3 separate regions of the Homo sapiens genome follow, and all the other regions are linked to region 1. Evidence: promoter capture Hi-C in 16 types of primary human blood cells and fetal thymus (Javierre and others, 2016). All regions are on one chromosome and are shown on one strand. Each heading gives the region's core, a stretch centred on a gene start or on the middle of the fragment in contact. The rest is flanking DNA. Distances are from core to core; before and after follow the strand shown.

What was found. The method cuts DNA at HindIII sites, captures the fragments that hold promoters and counts their contacts. A CHiCAGO score of 5 or more calls a contact.
Region 2: a contact is called between a fragment that was not itself captured here and the fragment with the promoter of HAUS7 in region 1, in 5 of 17 cell types (M1 macrophages, endothelial precursors, M2 macrophages and 2 more). The highest score is 7.6, in M1 macrophages.
Region 3: a contact is called between a fragment that was not itself captured here and the fragment with the promoter of HAUS7 in region 1, in 4 of 17 cell types (non-activated CD4 T cells, monocytes, naive CD4 T cells and 1 more). The highest score is 7.0, in non-activated CD4 T cells.

What each region holds. Positions count from the first base shown.
Region 1 is chrX:153,469,221-153,471,964 of GRCh38, reverse strand. HAUS7 (HAUS augmin like complex subunit 7) reads left to right here and starts at 1,389. Exons shown (of 10, transcript NM_001385482.1): 1 at 1,389-1,515; 2 at 2,704-2,744. The coding sequence starts at 1,408. RefSeq lists enhancers at 860-1,154, 1,668-1,767, 1,918-2,097 and a silencer at 1,028-1,337. The HindIII fragment of the contact is 16,714 bases long and covers 1-2,744 here.
Region 2 is chrX:153,037,077-153,039,776 of GRCh38, reverse strand. No RefSeq gene overlaps it. Among named protein-coding and RNA genes, the nearest start is that of PNMA3, 18 kb to the left of the region's middle. The HindIII fragment of the contact is 2,461 bases long and covers 40-2,500 here.
Region 3 is chrX:152,961,291-152,964,220 of GRCh38, reverse strand. ZNF185 (zinc finger protein 185 with LIM domain) reads right to left here. Exons shown (of 25, transcript NM_001395254.1): 20 at 272-382. Among named protein-coding and RNA genes, the nearest start is that of PNMA5, 31 kb to the left of the region's middle. The HindIII fragment of the contact is 1,707 bases long and covers 489-2,195 here.

The DNA.
Region 1 (2,744 bases), core at 140-2,639:
AAGAGGGAAAAAAACGCTTAAAAAAAAATCCCAAAGCCTTTGACAGCCCTCAGCTACCAGAAGGGCCTGAGGCAGCAGCCACGTGGAAGGGTAGAGAGCAACCTTGAGGCACTTCGCTGGGCCTGTGTCGGGGCCTCCCAGGCTGAGGTCCCTTCCTGTGACCCCCGGACTCCTGCCCGCTCCCTCCTCCCAGGACGGAGTGAAGTCCCCTCCTGTCACTTGGATGACTGCAGTTGCCTCCCAGCAGGTCCCTGGGTCTCCCTGACTATAGACTTGCCCCCTGATCCCACCCTCCAGGAGATGGCAGGGTAGGGCACAGAGGAGGGCACAGTGGCAGCTGCCTGCTGCTGTCTCCTGGCTACTGGGCACAAGCCACCCTCCAACTCCTTCCTGCCTTGCCCAATCAGCAGGTCCCTGGGTAAGGGGCATTCAGTGAACTGGGGGCTTTGCAGGTCTGGGGGAGGAGCGACTGACATATTTCATTGCAGACGCATTGAGTTTGAGGGTCCTGAGGGATGTAGAAAAATTTGTTAAGTAGACAGGATAGGAAGGAGCCACAGGTAGCCCCAGGAGCCGTGAGGGGAGCAGGGCCCAGCATGTATTACAATAGTGAGCATTTACGTGGTTCTTCGCATGCGCCGGGCACTGTTCTAGGGATTCCACAGGAATTATTACCGCCTGCCATCCTCATTAGCAACCCAGTGGGTAAGGTGCTCTCATTAGCTCCATTAGGTGAGGGCAAAGAGGCACAGAGAGGTTAGGTAACTGGTTCAAAGGCACACAGCTGGTGAGTGACAAGAAATTTCCTTCTAACTACAGCGTGAGCATGGTGAAGAGAAGACGGAGCCCCGCGCTGGGAGAGGAACGCTTCAGTCCGAGTTCCATTCTGCACCCAAGGCTCCCCTTGGTCCTCCTGGGAACCAGGGTGCCCCTTAGTGGTGGTGGCCCAGGAGAACCCGACCAAGGCAGGAGCGCCCCCTCCTGGAAGAGCCTCGCTTCAACGCATCATCATTCCCGGCCGGCAGCAGGGGCGACGCCAGCAAGGCCTGCGACTCAGAGCCAGCTTGGCCCGTTCGCCCCGCCCCTTCCCGGTGTCCGCCCCGCCCCTTTCCCGGTGTCCGCCCCGCCTCCTTCCCGGTGTCCGCCCCGCCCCCTTCCCTGTGTCCGCCCCGCCCCCTTCCCTGTGTCCGCCCTGCCCGCTTCACTGTGGTCCTGCCTCTGGGTGGTGCCGGGGCGGGGGGTGGGAGCCCGGGGCCCGCGCAGGCGGAGATGTCGCCCAATGGGAAGGGTCGGTCGGGAAGGGGGTGGGCGCAGGCGGGTGGGCGGGAAGAACGCTGGAGGTTGATTGGCGGTCTTGCCGGCCAGTGAAGCCAGGGCATGGGCGGGGCGCGGCTCGGAGCGCGAAACATGGCGGGGCAGGACGCTGGCTGCGGCCGTGGCGGCGACGACTACTCAGAGGACGAGGGCGACAGCAGCGTGTCCAGGGCGGCTGTGGAGGTGTTCGGGAAGCTGAAGGTGCTGTTGGCCCAGAAAGCCACTCCAGGGCGGGGGACCGGGGAGGGCCCCGCCCGAGGCCCGGGAGGGCTTGCTGCGGAAGTCCGCGGCGCCACGCGGCCACCGTCGCCGGTTCCGGCTGCGCCCTGTTCCCTTGCAGCAGGGGGTGCTTGTGGATCATTCATCTTTGCCCTTTGGTGTGCCCCAGGCCTTCGTTCTTGCTGTCTCCACGGCCCGTGCCTGGTAGTTGGGGCCAGCACCGCCTGTGGAACTGCAGTACCCGCGCTGGGCGCTCGGAGCAAGTGCAGACACAGAGGACCCAGGCCTGGCCTTAGGGATCTTGCGGGGTCTGGGGGGACAGATGGGCAGAGCCTCGTGCCACTCTGTCAAGTCAGCGAGACTAGGGCTTGGTGTCAGTTGGTGTCAGATGCCAGGGGTGATAGCCTCCAGAAGCCCTCTACAGCCCCACAGGACAGAGCCCTCACTGCAGCAGTGAGGAAAGCTGGCCCACGAGGTTAGGGAGCTGTCCCAGGTCCCCTCGGCCCGCTCGCTCCTCCCCCCAGACACTCCCCCATCCTGTCCGCGACTGGCTCAGTGGTCCCTCTCCCTTTCCCTCTCCCCTTTCCCTCAGTCCCGAAACCTAGGACTCTCTCTTAAGTCTTAGTCTCAGGCGTTGCTCCTAGGTCCTGCTGCCACAAGAGCCCAGAGTGGGAGTACTTGAAAGAGGTGGGGTCTGCATGCCGCGGGAGATGTGGGGTTAAGAATGGGGGGACTTGAACTCTTGGCAAGATGGCAGGACGCGGGTAAAGGAAAGGGTCCTGGGAGCTTGCAGATGTACACTGAGGACTGGGCGCGGCGGCCCACGCCTGTAATCCCACCACTTTGGGAGGCTGAGGTGGGCAGATACCTGAGGTCAGGAGTTTGACACCAGCCTGGCCAACATGGTGAAACTCCGTCTCTATTAAAAATACAAAAATTGTCCGGGCGTGGTGGCGCATGCCTGTAATCCCCCAGCTACCCTGGGAGCTGAGGCAGGAGAATTGCTGGAACCCAGGAGGTGGAGGCTGCAGTGAGCCGAGATCATGCCACTGCACTCCATCCAGGCTGGGCGACAGAGTGAGACTCCGTCTCAAAAATAAATAAATAAATAAAATGAAATGATGTACACTGGGACTTTCAGTGAATGTTGCTTTCCTTTTCCTTGCTTAGGACCTAAACTGCCCCTTCCTCGAGGGTCTGTATATCACAGA
Region 2 (2,700 bases), core at 21-2,520, 430 kb after region 1:
CTCTTATGCAACCCTGTCCAAGTGCCACCGAATAAAGCTTGTTGTGTTACTGCCCCTTGCAGTCATATCTTTTTCCTTGATCAGCCCTCAAATTCCTTCAACAAACTCCCTGAGTTTACTAAATGATGGCAAAGCCCATTCAGCAAACACCATTCCATCGAGGCTATTGAAGAGATTAAACATGTCAGAGGTTATTTTTAAAGGAAATTTTTAGGAGCAAAGAGTGCTTTGGCTTTTCTCCTACCCTCCCCAGGAGGGAGGATAAGGAGGCGCTGTCTCTAAAACCAAATCAAATGCATCAGTTCAGGTCCTCCAGGAAGTCAAGATGGAGTTAGAAGTGCAAAAAAATTATCACAGAAGATAAAGGGGAGAGGACACAGAAAGAGGCAGGAAGAACCTTCAGACCACAGGGCGGGTCTAACACAAGTGGAAAGAGAGGGAGAAGGAAGGATTGGAAGGAAGAGTCTCAGACAGTGGTGCAGCTTTCAAAAAGTCTTGGCCAGCCCAACGGGGAGCTCTGATGCAAAGATGGCCCATAGAGGAGTCCCACACTGAGCAAAAATGACCCTAGTACCCTGCTGTGCTAAGCCTCTGATAGGGAGCTGCCTGGAACTAGCATGGTCTCACCTCAAATGCTGCCTTGGACCCTGAAGACATTCCACCTGAATGCTGTCAACTAATTGCACTCCTCATAACAGGCCCTCTCTTAAAGTGACATCCAAGCAGTGCACTTCCATAGCTGCCACAGGCCATCCTTTGTGCCACACAGATCCACTACTCCATAGCTGCTCGGGAAGCAGTTCCTCCTTGGCTCCTGTGGGCCACTCTTTCTGAAGGTAAACTTAGAAGTTGGCAGTCGGGTGCGGTGGCTCATGCCTGTAATCCCAGCACTTTGGGAGGCCGAGGTGGGCAGATCACGAGGTCAGGAGATCAAGACCATCCTGGCTAACACGGTGAAATCCCGTCCCTACTAAAAATACAAAAAAAAAAAAAAAATTTAGCCAGGCATGGTGGCAGGCCTGTAGTCCCAGCTACTCGGGAGGCTGAGGCAGGAGAATGGTGTGAACCTGAGAGGCAGAGCTTGCAGTGAGCAGAGATCGCACCACTGCACTCCAGCCTGGGTGACAGAGTGAGACTCTGTCTCAAAAAAAAAAAAAAAAAAGAAAAAGAAGAAGAGAGAAGTTGGCGGGACAAAGTACAAGCCCCATCAGTGCAGTTGGTCCTGCAACTGCAACAGGTATTTATGATTACCCTCTTCCACTATCCATTCTAGATTTCCCTCACCCTCAACTATAACCTCTGCAGTTTTGGCAGCTTCCTTCATCCCTGAGTGGTCTGAGTCCCTCGTATCCATACCCTTCTTAGGCCACTCACACTGTACTTGATCACTTACAGCCAATGAGGCAAAAGAGTACCAAAAGTCACTAGAAAAGATCATCTGAGTCCCGAGCATATTCCTCTCTGCCTCTATTATATAACAGCAGTCTTACCTCTTCCTTGATAATTCTCTATTACTCCCACCACCATGATGATTCTTCCTGCTTGCTGGTGTCTGGAATCAAGGAACCCCAAAATGCCAGGCAGCAGTGGTGGCTATAAGTACAACTGGAACCCAGGCTGTATGTCCTGATAAGAGTGCAAAGAACCAGAACCTCTACCCTGCAGAGCCTAGATTTAAGGAGATGGGAAGCACAATGTTGGCCCCTGAGTAGGTCACTGGGAAAGATGGAAAGTGAGGCCACTTTGGCCTCCACCCTATGGCTTCCAGACCCATGTATTCTTCCTACTGGGGACACAGTGCCACATGGACATCTCTGACACAGTGCATATACTGCATCCTGGAGGATGGCGCCTCATCCTTGTAGGGTATTGCCTCTAAGCCTGTGCTCCAGCTACACCTCCAGAAGGCCATTCCAACACTCTATCAAGCTAGTAGCTTCTGGGTGGCACAGTGTGACACCAGACTATCCCATGCTCATGGGCTCATGCACATACCTCCTTCACTCTGAAGTGTGTCCCTTGGTAGGATACCTTCTTGTGTGGGATTCCAGGTCTGCAGGTCATGCACTCTGAAAGCCCCTGGATAGTGATGTTAGCTGAAGTTCTGCCAGGAGGAAAGGAAAACCCATACTCAGAATAGGTTTCTGTCCTTGTAAGAAAGAATGGATGTCTCTTCTAAGAGATAATGGACCCAACATGGAGAAATGGTGCCATATTGGGGTCTCAGCATTGGTCTCTTTCACTGGAAGACTGGACCTTCAGAGCTAGTAGCAGCAATAAAGGCCTTGTTAAGTAGGATTCCATGCTTCTGGGCCCGTGAGCAGTCTCCATCTCTCACACTGTGGCCCATCTGTTTATGTGCCCATTGTGTCAGTTCTGGACTGGCTGATGGTGAAGGGTGGCTAATATCCAACTTGCTGAGTCATTTTGTGCACTTGACAGTTCAGCTCCTCTTCTACTGTTGATGCTTTCTGGTGGGCACTTGTATGTGACGTAAGCTTTTCCTTCATGCTCACTCCCATGTTTATCCATATGCCTCTACCCCAGACTTCCTTGTCTCCAGTTTTCCAGTCCTTTCCTTTTTAGACCTTTGGCTAGTCCATTGGCCACTGCTCAGAAATCTGTGCATATTCCTACCCTGGGCCACTTCTTCCACACAAAGTGGATGATAAGGTGCACACCTTAAAGCTCCACCCATCA
Region 3 (2,930 bases), core at 93-2,592, 510 kb after region 1:
TGGCAGAGCCACATCCACTAGTGCACTAGGAAGTACCACTGCAGCCTCTTACAGAGATAGGAAAAAGGAGGTGTGGGAATGTCTAGGCCCGGTAGATGGGAGTTTATATTAGGGGACTAACACTGTCCTGTGTGGCCCCTTGGCTAATGGCCTGCTAGAAACTGGGGAAGGCACTAAATGGGAAGCAACATGGAACAAAAGCCAAGTCCTTTACCGCCAAGGAGGAAGTGGCGGAGGAACATCTCCCAGGTTGCTAGATAGCCCTTCTTACGTGGTAGAGCTGGAGTCCAATTCACTTGCGGGGGCTGGAATATAAATGTGAGGCTGCTCAGATGTGGCAGTGACAGTAACAGTGACCATGCAGCTCGAGGGGCTCCTCACCCTGAAAGAAATAAAGGGAGGGGTGGGCACGTCAACCTGGGAGCTGACACCTTCCAGGGTCAAACAGGCTTTTCTGAGCCTAACCCTTGAGCACTGCTCTTGAAGCTTCCTCCAAGACCAACAAATGGAACTTCTCACTTTACAGATAAGCAAACCCAGGCTAGGTGAGTTGAGACATGTCCCAGGTCACATCGTGAGTCAGTAGCAAGACCCCAATCTTCCAGTGTCCACTCAGTACTCCTGACTGCAGCCAAGGGCCTTGGCCTCTGTGATTCACTCAGTTAGAGTGGAATCATGGGGCTCCCGGGGATGTGACAGTCAGGAGGGTGCAGAAGGGGAAGACACAGCCCAGCTCACCTCCTCACTGGATGGGACGGTCCCTTACTAGGATCAGCTCCTTCTGCCACCCTGCAGGGAACTCTCTAGAGAACACAAGGCCAAGGGGCAGAGGACCAAATGAAATTAGGCATCATTGAGGAGGAAAGTCAGATGCACCTCATTCCCAGCAGAGGCGGGAAACTGACCGGTGTCGAAGTTTTTCTGAACCTCCACACTTCAGCTGCCAGATATGGCCCTTGGCCTGGAATCCAACCTCCTCGGCAGCCCAAAAGGGCTTTTCTCTGGCCAAGCCAATATCGGCTCTCACTCTGCCTGCCCCCAGGCTATGAGCCTCATTACCAAAGCTGCCGTAGCTGTCAACTGCAGTTCAGGGCACGATGTTGGGCAGCACCACTGACCACTTGTTTGCACCTTCCAACTTAAGTCTGCTCACCCTCCAAAGGCCTGAGGCCAGCACTATGGGTGCACACTGCCCTGGGCTGATTCTGGCTTTTCTCCAACATGCTGTGGCTCAGATCATACTCCAGATATGGCTGCCTCCATCTGGCCCAGGCTACTGGGTATTGTCCCCTTGCCAGAGAATCCAATGCCTAAGATTACAACTAGTTGAAGAGTGGGGAAAGGGAAGAACAATCATGGTCTAGCATCTGCCTAGCTCTCTCGCCTCATAGTCTCAAACTGTATCACGTGCCACTCAAGCCGTACAGACCAGCCTGCAGTTCCCCTGGACTTCCAGGCTCTCATATGCCTTTGCAGACAATATCACCTCCTCTGGGAAGCCCTTCCTGAGGGCCTGCCCTCCTACCTCACCTCAGTGTACCCAATCATCCTGTACCTGTTCCTGCTTCACCCTATGACAAAGAAATATACCATAGAGACTGGAGAAGGTGGACTGGATGGGAGAGGAGGCCCCACAAAAATCTGAAAAGATACACGGGGGATAAAATGCAGAGCCAACAAGTGAGAAAAGGATTGATTCTAAGAGGAAGGAAGGAAGACCTCCTACTGACTGAACAACTACCAGGTGTCTGGTATCCTGTGATCCATGTCAGCAGAATACTGAAGGGGACGGCGCAACTGAAGAGGCAAGGTAAAACAGAAATTCCCTGGAGCTACTTGGGAAGCTGAGGCAGGAAGATCACTTGAGGCCAGGAATTCAAAAACAACCTGGGTAACACAGTGAAACACCGCCTCTTAAAAAAAAGAAAAAATGCCCTGGGCATCCCCCCAGGACTGCAATGTGAGCAATAGGAGCCCTCCCAATAGCCTCCTCTCCCTCACCTACAAGACCCTACAGGGCCCAGCTCCTGCCCCCTGCTCACCTCACCCCGTACCCTCCAAGCACAGGGCTCATTGTTCAGGCCCTCCTCCCTATCTTCTTTGTCCACAATGCCTCTCCCCAGGTTCTTTGGAAGGCAGGCTCCTCCAGATGTTTCAGGTCTCAGCCGAACTGTCTCCTCCTCGATAGAAAAGCTTTCCCTAACCATCCTTGCTCTAACCCCTCTCCATCAGAGCACCTGGTTTCTTTCCTTCCTGGGCTTATCACAAATGGAGGGGCAGTATGGATGCCACAGCGATGAACAGTACAGGCTCTGATCTCTGTCTGGATTCTAATCTCGGTTAGGCCACTTCCTGGCTGCAAAACTGCCAGCAAATTACTTAACCTCCATCTGCCTCAGTTTCTCCATAATAAAAGCACCTCCTTGAGTTGGTGTGAGAATTAAATGAGTGAGTCCACATAAGGCATGCAGAACAGTGCCTGCACATTCTCAGCACACAGCAGGTGCTAATGGTTATTACGATCATGCTTATTCCTTAGTGGACTATGTGCTCTTTGAGGGCGGCTGGATGGGGCCTTAGCCATCGTGTTCACTGTGTACATGGCTGCTCACAGGAGGCTCTTAGTATGCAGCATCTCTAGCCGGCGGCCCATGGCTCCTGGTTATTCCCAAACTCATGGCCACTTTGGGAAAAAAAAATCTCTGGGGAACAAAGGGAGCTCTCAAAAGACACGTGCACCTTCTTTCACCATCATCAACTGCAGCTCCAGGCAGTGATAAAGCAAGGACCTCTGGCCTCACACAGAAAAGGACCAGAGGGAAACTGAGGCTGGCTGCTGGCATGCATCCCATGTGTTAGGTTTGAGAGACCAGAGCCAGGCTGAGGAATGCAAGAGGTCAGCAAAAATTTTCTTTGCTGAGTTCCTTGGC